Regions from separate parts of the Homo sapiens genome. Here regions 2 and 3 are each linked to region 1. Evidence: promoter capture Hi-C in human tissues and cell types (Jung and others, 2019). All regions are on one chromosome and are shown on one strand. Each heading gives the region's core, a stretch centred on a gene start or on the middle of the fragment in contact. The rest is flanking DNA. Distances are from core to core; before and after follow the strand shown.

What was found. The method cuts DNA at HindIII sites, captures the fragments that hold promoters and counts their contacts. A contact is called where the count stands out against the background at its distance.
Region 2: a contact is called between a fragment that was not itself captured here and the fragment with the promoter of POMK in region 1, in 2 of the 25 tissues and cell types used here (mesendoderm cells and thymus).
Region 3: a fragment that was not itself captured here is called in contact with the fragment with the promoter of POMK in region 1 in 2 of the 25 tissues and cell types used here (mesendoderm cells and thymus).

Annotation. Positions count from the first base shown.
Region 1 is chr8:43,091,611-43,095,006 of GRCh38, forward strand. POMK (protein O-mannose kinase) reads left to right here and starts at 1,905. Exons shown (of 5, transcript NM_032237.5): 1 at 1,905-1,953. RefSeq lists enhancers at 869-1,775, 1,776-2,681 and a silencer at 1,933-2,142. The HindIII fragment of the contact is 5,704 bases long and covers 1-3,396 here.
Region 2 is chr8:43,873,116-43,876,511 of GRCh38, forward strand. No RefSeq gene overlaps it. Among named protein-coding and RNA genes, the nearest start is that of POTEA, 580 kb to the left of the region's middle. The HindIII fragment of the contact is 6,113 bases long and covers 1-3,396 here.
Region 3 is chr8:43,612,481-43,615,876 of GRCh38, forward strand. No RefSeq gene overlaps it. Among named protein-coding and RNA genes, the nearest start is that of POTEA, 320 kb to the left of the region's middle. The HindIII fragment of the contact is 4,516 bases long and covers 1-3,396 here.

The sequences.
Region 1 (3,396 bases), core at 655-3,154:
GTTTCTCCCGAGTCTCTGTGTGTGCCCCCGACACTCAGTTCCAGGCTTTGGACTACCTTCAGCTTGAAGATGGGTGACACAACCAGTTTGATGGTGCGTCAAATTCTGCTGTTCTTTTTATTTTTAATTTTTTGTTTGAATTTAATTCCTCTAATTTTTCATCAGTGTTAAAATTTCACCTTTTCCCAGCACCCCCAAAAAGCCTGTGGGCACAAAATGGTGGCCACGTGGCAAAGAACTCAGCAAGGAGAGCTGCTGGTTGGTTTCTATCTTTGTTTGTTTGAGACGGAGCTTTGCTCTTTTGCCCAGGCTAGAGTGAAGTTGTTGGGGAAACCAGCCCCACACCACCCGGCGGGTACCCCGAGTCCAGCGAAGACAAAGGAATTAGAATAAGAGTTTAAAAGGCGGGTCCGGGGGACCGGAGCGTTGGAGGCTTGCTCACGGCCCCGAGCTCTCGGCCTCCACCCAATTTATTGGTGTATATTCACACTGTTGTGCAACCATCACCCCCATCCATCTCCAGGACTTTACCATCTTCTCACACTGAAACTGTGCACCCGTTAGTATTTTTCATGGCTATGTGGATGTAATATAATTTCTTTCAGAAACCCCTATTGTTATACATTCAGGTTTCTTTTTTTCTCTATTATAAATATCTTTTATCAGCAATGCTTCAGCAAGATCTCTTGTGCATACATCTTGCAGACATATTATTTCTTTTTCTTTTTTTTTTTTTTTTTTTTTGAGACGGAGTCTCGCTCTGTCACCCAGGCTGGAGTACAGTGGCGCGATCTCGGCTCACTGCAAGCTCCGCCTCCCGGGTTCACGCCATTCTCACGCCCGCCACCATGCCCGGCTAATTTTTTGTATTTTTAGTAGAGACGGGGTTTCACCGTGTTATCCAGGATGGTCTCGGTCTCCTGACCTCGTGATCCGCCCACCTCGGCCTCCCAAAGTCCTGGGATTACAGGCATGAGCCACGGCGCCCGGCCACAGACGTTATTTCTGAAGGATAAATTCCTAGAAATGGATTTGCTAGGGCACGTAGGAGGAATTCCAATTTACACTCACTTGTATGTGTGAGGAAACTTTCAGACTCTACTGTAACGACAGGAGGTATTACCGCTGTTTGTCCATGTGATAGGCAAACGTTTCTGTTAATTTTAATACTGTTTGGATAGCTAGTACCGGCTCAGTTTTTTTAACCCACACCATGTTACTGTCTTGATTCTGGACTTTCGCAGTGTGTCAGTGTAGAAGCAGCTAACGCTTCCGATGTACACAACCTAGACGTTCCATGACCCAGCTGACTTCGATGCTGCAAGCCTCCCTTTCGGTTTCCCGGAGCAAGCGCCCGAGTGCGTGTTGGGCTCCCGGCAGGGCTCCTGGCCGGCCCTCGACGGACTTCCCCGCCTTTGCCCAGTCCTGCCCCTCCGCGGAGGCTTGCCAAGGTCTTGTCTGCTGCGCTTGATGTGTGCAGCTCAGCTTTACTGCGTCTAGGCTAAGCCCCACAGTTTCTTTTACAGAGCGATTGTCCAACTTCAGGCATCTGGGTCCCCGAGTGGCGGGTCTGGGCCGGAGCTGGGAATCAGCCTTTCCAGCAAGGTCCCTGCAGATGCCGCGGGTCTGAGGACTACGCTTTGGAAGGCCTCGCAGTGCGTCTAGATCTGACAGCTGCTCTGCATGAGCCTGGCTCCAGGCTGAAGCAATAGTCGGTCAACACAAAATCGTTCTCCCAAGTTAGGGAAGCAGAAGCCAGACAGGGAGACTGGGTAGGTGCGCGCTGGTACCGCCGCGGCGTTCGCTCCGGCTTCAGTGCACGGCCGGAGGAGGACGCCAGGGGGCAGCAGCGCCACGCTCACCCGCCCAGGACGCGCTTCCGAACGCGCAAGCGCAGTAGGCCCAGTGCGTGCTGGCCCGGGGTGGCAGGAGCCGCAGAGGCTTGGGCTGCAGGTAGGTGCTGCGGCGAGGGGTGAGAGGGCGAAGGGGCGAGGGGGCGTGCAGCTGGGTTTCCCGGGGGACCCTGTACGTGGCCTGGGCCGCACCCCCCGCAGCCCCGGCCGCCTGCCCGCGGCCTGTCCGGAGGCTCCCTAGGAGGCTGCGCTGGGCCTGAGCGGCCGTGTCCACCGCGCCCAGCCCCTATCTCCGCGTCCACCCCTGCGCGGTAGCGGGACGTTAAAGAACCAGAGAAGGGCCCGGCGAGGTGGCTCCAGCCTGTAATCCCAGCGCTTTGGGAGGCCGAGGCGGGAGGATCGCGTGAGCTCAGGCGAGAGCAGCCTGGGCAACATGGCGGAACTTCTGTCTCCGTAAAAAAGCACTTAGCCGGGCGCGGTGGCGCCGCCTATAGTCTTATCTACTCCGGAGGCTGAGGCGGGAGAATGCTTGAACCCGGCGGGGGCGGAGGTTTCAGTGAGCCGAAATCGCGCCACTGCACTTCAGCCTGGGGGCCAGAGTGAGAGGCTGTTTCTATTATTATTACTTTATCATTATTATTATTATTTGAGACGGAGTCTCGCTCTGTCGCCCAGGCTGGAGTGTAGTGGCGCGGTCTTGGCTCCTGGGATTACAGGCGTCCGCCACCACGCCCGGCTAATTTTTGTATTTTTAGTAGAAACGGGGTTTCCCCATGTTGGTCAGGCTGGTCTCGAACGCCTGACCTCAGGTGATCCGCCCGCCTCTGCCTCCCAAAGTGCTGGGATTACAGGCGTGAGCTACTGGGTCCGGCAGAGGCTGTCTCTGTTTAAAAAAACAAAAACCAAACCAAACCAAAACAAAACAAAAAACAAAAAAACCAGAAAGGACCGAGGACTCTGTCTCAGCTCTTTGCCTTTGGGTGTTTATTCTGCACGAGATCATTGTTGCCAGGAGGTGTTAAGTGTAATCATATTCTCTTTTTTTTAGAAAGCAAAATTTCGCTGTTTTGTTGCATAATCTTGTCTTTGCCACCCTTTGCCTTTGCTATAGAACCTTAAGGCTAAATAAGCGTTCAGAATATTTAAAATAATCCTCTTAATGTACCTTGTGCTTTATTGGCGCAATGGAATTCTACTCTAAACTGTATTGGATGACATTACTCTGTGTCTTCCCTAGTTGTAGAAAATATCTTGTAAGTCGGTAAAAACTAGTTTTGTCCCTTTGCTTTTCTTTTCTTTTTAAGCTGTAAATGTGGAGCAGTGGGTCCCAAGCCTTTCTCTATCAATAAGCCTTCCTATCAGTGTCAGAAATGCTTTGCATTTCAGTCGTGCCTGAATTTCTTCTGCCCAACCTGCCCCACCATCTTTATTCCTTAATGTGCAGGCTGTTTTCAGGACCAGTAAATTTCAGTGGTTTTTGCTTACTTCTGGACACGAAAGTTCCTTTAGCCACACAGCCTCATGCTATGCTCTGGGCGGCCTA
Region 2 (3,396 bases), core at 660-3,159, 780 kb after region 1:
GAAGCCTAGGAGAAAAACTGAATATCCCCAGATTAAAACTAAAAGGAAGCTATCTGTGAAACTGCTTTGTGATGTGTGGATTCATGTCACAGAGTTAAATTTTTCTTCTGATTCAGCAGGTTGGAAACATACTTTTTGTAGAATCTGCAGAGGGATATTTGGAAGCCCATTGAGGCTTATGCATAAAAATGGAATATCCACAGATAAAACCTACAAAGAATCTATCTGTGAAACTGCTTTGTGATGTGTGGATTTATTTCACAGATGTGAATCTTTCTTTTGATTTGGAAGATTGTAAACACTCTTTTTGGAGTATCAATGAAAGGACATTTGGAAAAACGTATTATCCCAAGATAAAAACTAGAAAGAAGCTATCAGTGAAATATCATTGTGATGTGTGAACTCATCTCTCAGAGGTAAACATTTCTTTTGATTCAGCAGGTTGGAAACACACTTTTTGTAGAATCGGTGAAGGGACATTTGCAGCTTTTTGAGGCCAACGGGGAAAAAAAAGAATATCCCAAGATAAAAGGTAGAAAGAGGCTGCCTGTGTAAGTTCTTCTGATGTGTGGATTCAACTCACAGAGTTAATCCTAGCTTTTATTCCTCAGGTTGCAAACACTATTTTTCAAGAATCTGCAAAGAGACTTTTGGGAACCCTTTGAGGCTTATGAAGAAAAATCAATTATCCCAAGGTAAAAACTAGATAGAAGCTATATGTCAAACTGTTTTGTGATGTGAGGATTCATCTCACAGAGTTAAACATTTCTTTTGATTCAGCAGGTTGTAAAATCTCTTTTTGGAGAATCTGAAAAGGAACAGTTCAGAACCCATTGAGGCCTAAGGAGAAAAACTGAATATCCCCAGATAAAAACTAGAAAAAAGCTATCTGTTGAACTGCTTCTTGATATGTGCATTAATCTCACAGAGTTAAATCTTTCTTCTTCCCCAGCAGGAAAACACTTTTTTTTGGAGAATGTGTAAAGGAACATTTTGCAGCCCATTGATCACCACGGGGGAAAAATGAATATACATGAATAAATACCATAAAGAAGCAATGTGTGAAACTGCTTTGTGATGTCTGCATTCCTATCTCATAGTTAAATTTCTTAGTTGACTCAGCAGGTTGGAAACACTATTCTTGGAAAATCTGTGAAGGGACTTTTGGGAGCCCATTGAGGCTAATGGGGAAAAACAGAATATCCCCAGATAAAAACTAGAATAAAGATACCTGTGAAACTGCTTTGTGATATGTTGATTCATCTCACATAGTTAAACCTTTGTTTTAACCAGCAGGCTGGAAACTCTTTTTGTAGAATCTGCCATGGTACTTTTGGGACCCCACTGAAACCTATGGGGAAAAACTGAATATCCCCAGATAAATCTAGAAAGAAGCTTTCTGTGAAAACGCTTTGTGATGTGTAGATTCATCTCACAAAGGTAAACGTTTCTACTGATTCAGCAGGTTGAAAGCACTATTTCTGGATATCTGTGAAAAAAAAATTGTGCACCCATTGAGGCCTATGGGGAAAAACCAAATGTCCAAAGATAAAAAACAGAAAGAAGCTATTTTTGAAACTGCTTTGTGATGTGTGAATTCACTTCATGGAGCTACATTTTTCTTTTGATTCAGCAGGTTGGAAACACTCTCTTTTTAGAATCTGTGAACAAACATTTGAGGGCCCTTTGAGGTCTACAGAGAGAAAGCAAATATCCCCCAATAAAGAAAGAAGCTAGCTGTGAAACTTCTTTTTCATGTGTGGTTTTATTTCATGGAGTTAAATCTTTCTTTGATTCAGCAGGTTGGAAACACTCTTTTTGGAGAACCTGTGAAAGGACATTAGGGAGTACATTGTTGCCTATGGGGAAAAGCAGAATATCCCCAGATAGAAACTAGAAAGAAGATTTCTGTGAAACTGCTTTGTGATGTGTGGATTCATCTGACAAAGTTAAACCTTTCTTTTGATTCAGCAGGTTGAAAACACTCTTTTTGGAGGATCTGCATAGGGATATTTTGGTGCCATAGAGACCTTAGAAGAAAAACTGAATATCCCCAGATAAAAATTAGAATAAAGTTATCTGTGGAACTGCTTTGGGATATGTGGATTCATCTCACAGTGTTAAATTTTCTTTTCATTCAGTAGCTTGGAAACACCCTTTTTGTAAAATCTGTTTGGATTAGAAACAGAAAAAATAAGCATTGAAAAGGCAGGTACAGGAGACCAGAGCATCAGTGGCTTGCTCACAGCCCAGAGCTCTTGGACTCCACCCAATTTATTGTTTTACAAGCTCTCTCTTCTTAGAGCAGATGGGAGGGTTAGGAAGGGATGAGACAAAGGATTTATGAGTGAAGGAGAACTCATGAGTCTTTTGACATGATATATAGCAGTGACGAGTTCTAGCTTCTCCCTAGTTTTTATCTAGGGATATTCAGTTTTTCCAGATAGGCCTCAATGGGATTCCAAATGTCCCTTTGAGGATTCCCCAAGAAGACTGTTTACAACCTGCTGAATCTAAAGAAATGCTTAACTCTGTGAGATGAATCCACGCATCACAAAGCAATATCACTGAAAGATTATTTTTAGTTTTTATATGAGGATATTCAGTTTTTCCTCGTAGTCCTCAATGTCCCTTTGCATATTCTACAAAAAGAGTGTTTCCAACCTGCTTAATCAAAAGATAGTTTTAAGTCTGTGAGATGAATCTACACATCACAAAACAGTTTCACAAGTAGCTCTTTCTAGTTTTCATATGGGTATATTCAGTTTTTCCATATAGGCCTCAATGAGCTCCCAAATATTTCTTTGCAGGTTCTTTAAAAACAGTATTTCCAATATGCTGAATCAAAACAGAGGTTTAACTCTTTGAGAATTCACACCTCACAAAGCAGTTTCACAGATAGGTCCTTTGTAGTTTTTATCCTGGGGTTTTCACTTTATTCTCATAGGCCTCAATGGGCTCTCAAAGTCCATTCACAGATTCTCCAAAAGGAGTGTTTCCCACCTCCTGAATCAAAAGAAAAGTTTAACTCTGTGAGATGAATCCACACATCACAAAGAAGTTTCCCAGATTGCTTCTTTCCAGTTTTTATCTGGGGATATTTTGTTTTTCCTCATAGGCCTCAAAGGGCTCCCAAATGTTTCTTCATAGATTCTCCAAAAGGAGTGTCTTCAACCTCCTGGACCAAAAGAAAGGTTTAAGTCCATGAGATGAATCCATACAATACAAAACAATTTCACAGATAGCTTCCTTCTAGTTTTCATCTGGGGATATTCTGTTTTCATCTATAGGCCTCAATGGGCTCCTAAATGTCCCTTTGCAGATTCTACATAAAGATTGTTTCCAACCGGCTGGATGAAATGATAAGCTAAATTCTGTCAGATGAACCCACACATC
Region 3 (3,396 bases), core at 258-2,757, 520 kb after region 1:
GTAGTATCTGTGAAGAGACGTTTGGGAGCCCAGTGAGGCCTATGGTGAAAAACCGATTATACCCAGAGAAAAACTACAAAGAAGCTGTCTGTGAAGCTGCTTTGTGATGTATCAATCATCTACAGAGTTAAACCTTTCTTTTGATTCAGCAGGTTGGAAACACTCTTTTTGTAGAATCTGTGAAGGGACATTTGGGAGCCCTTTGAGGCCAATGGTGAAAAACTGAATATCCCCAGATAACAACTAGAAAGAAGCTGTCTGTGAAAGTGGTTTGAGATGTGTGGATTCATCTCAGATTAAAACTTTCTTTTGATTCGAATGTTTGGAAACACTCTTTTTGTAGAATCTGTGAAGGGACAATGGGGGCCCATTAAAGCTTAGGGTGAAAAAAACAATATCCCCAGAGGAAAATTAGAAAGAAGCCATCTGTGAAACTGCTTTGTGATGTGTGGCTTCATGTGACAGAGTTAAACCTTTCTTTTGATTCAGCATGTTAGAAATACTCTTTTTGTAGAATCTGTGAAGGGATATTTGGGAACCTAATGAGGACTGTGGTGAAAAACAAAATATCTCCAGATAAAAATGAGAAAGAAGCTATCAGTTAAACTGCTTTGCAACGTGTGCATTCGTCTCACATAGTTAAACCTTTCTTTTGTTTCAGTAGGTTGCAAACACTCTTTTTGTAGAATCTACAGAGGGACAATTTGGTGCCCATTGAGGCCTATGTTGAAAAACAAAATATCCTCATAAAAAACTGGTAGAAAAGTATTGGTGAAATTGCTTTGTGATGTGTCGATTCATCTCACAGAGATAAACTTTTATTTAAATTCAGCAAGTTGGAAAAACTTTTTGTAAAATCTGCAAAGGGACATTTGATAGCCCATTGAGACCTATGGTGAAAAACTGAATATCCCCAGATAACAACTAGAAAGAAGCAGTATTTGAAAGTGCTTTGTGATGTGTGGGTTTCTCTCACAGAATTAAACCTTTCTTTTCATTCCACAAGTTGGAAACACTCTTTTTTTAGAATCTATGAATGGACAACTGGGAGCCAAATAATGCTTATGGTGAAAAATTGAATATCCCCAGAGAAACAGTAGAAAAAACCTACCTGTGAAAGTGCTTTGTGATGTGTGCGTTCATCTCACAGAGATAAACCTTTCTTTTGATTCAGCAGGTTGGAAACTTTTTTTGTAGAATCTGTGAAGAATCGTTTAGGAGCCCACTGAGGCCTTTGGTGAAACACTGAATAACCCCACATAAAAACTACAAAGAAGCTATCTGTGAAACTGCTTTGTGATGTATAGATTCATCTCACAGAGTTAAACCTTTCTTTTGATTCAACAGGTTGGAAACACACTTTTTATAGAATCTGCAAAAAGACATTAGGGATCCCATTGAATTCTATGATGAAAAACTGAATATGCCCAGATAGAAACTAGAAAGATGCTATCTGTGAAACTGCTTTGTGATGTGTGAATTCATCTCCTTGAGTTAAATCTTTCTTTTGATTTAGCAGGTTTGAAACATTCTTTTGTAGAATCTGCATAGGAACACTGGGGAGCCCATTGAGACCAATGGTGAGTAACAGAAAAAAAACTAGAAAGAAGCTGTCAGTGAAACTGCTTTGTGATGTGTAAATTCATATCAAAGAGTTAAACCTTGCTTTTAATTCAGAAGGTTGGAAACACTCTTTTTATAGTGGTGATGTGTGGATTCACCACAGAAAAATAAACCTTTCTTTTTATTCAGCAGGTTGGACACAATCTATTTGTAGAATATGCAAATTTACATTTAGGAGCCCATTGAGGCCTATGGTGAAAAACCAAACATCCCCAGATAAAAACTAGTAAGAAGTTATCTGTGAAACTGCTTTGTGATGTGTGCATTCATCTCACAGAGTTAAACCTTTCTGTTGATTCAGCAGGTTGGAAACACTATTTTTGTAGAATCTGCAAATTGACATTTAAGAGCCCACTGAGGCCTATGGTGAAAAACCGAATGTTCCCAGAAAAAAACTAGAAAGAATCTGTGAAACTGCATTTTGATTTGCACATTCATCTCACCAAGTTAACATATGCTTTGATTCAGCAGGTTGGAAACACTGTTTTTGTTGAATCTGCGAAGGGACATTTGGAAGCCCATTGAGGTGTATGGTGAAAAATCGAATATTGCCAGATAAAAGCATTCTTTTTGTACAATTTGTGAGGGGTCATTTGGGAGCACATTGAGGCCTGTAATGAAAAACCAAATATCCCCACATAAAAACCAGAAAGAAGCTATTTGTGAAACTGTGCTCTAATGGGTGGATTCATCTCACAGAGTTAAACATTTCTATTGATTCAGTGGCTTGGAAACACTTTTTTCATAGAATCTACAAAGGAGCATTTGAAAGCCCTTTGTTGCATGTTTTTTAAAAATGGAATGTCTCTATTTAAAAAGTAGAAACAAGCTATCTGAGAAACTGCTTTGTGATGTGTGGATTCAACTGACAGAGTTAAACATTTCTTTTGATTCAGCAGGTTGGAAGCACTCTGTAGAAACATTTGGGAGCACACTGAGACCTGTGGTGAAAATCTGATTATCCCCAGATAAAAATTAGAAAGAAGCTATCTGTGGAAATGCTTTGTGATGTTTGGATTCACCTCACACAGTTAAACCTCTCTTTTAATTCAGTGGGTTGGTAAAAATCTTTTGGTACAATCTGCAAATTGACATTTACAAGCCTATTGAGGCCTATGGTGAAAAAAGAATATCTCAAATAAAAACTAGAAGGAAGGTATCTGTGTCACTGCTTTGTGATGTGTGGGTTCATCTCACAGAGTTAAACATTTCCTTTGATTCAGCAGTTGGAAACACTCTATTTGTAGAATCTGTGAAGGGACATTTGGGAACCCATTGAGACCTATGGTGGAAAAGTGAATATCCCCGGATAAAAACTAGAAGGAATCTATCTGTGAAACTGCTTTGTGATGTCTGGATTCACCTCACAGATTTAAACTTTTATTTTGATTCAGCAGGTTGGAAACACTTTAGATGTAGGATGTGTGAAGAGATATTTGGGAGCCCATGGAGGCCTATGGTGAAAAATAGAATATTCCCAGAAAAATCCTAAAAAGAATCTCTTTGTGATACTGTTTGTGATGTGTGCAATCATCTCACTTAGGTAAACTGTTCTCTTGATTCAGCAGATTAGAAACACTCTTTGTAGAATCTGTTAATGGACATTTGGGAGCCCATTGAGGCTTATGGTGAAAACTGAATATCCCCATATAAAAACTAGAAAGAAGTTATCTGTGAACAGTTTTGTGATGTGTGGATTCATCTCACATAGTTATACCTTTCTTTTGATTCAGCAGGTTGGAAACACTCTTTTTGTGGAATCTTTGGTTGGAT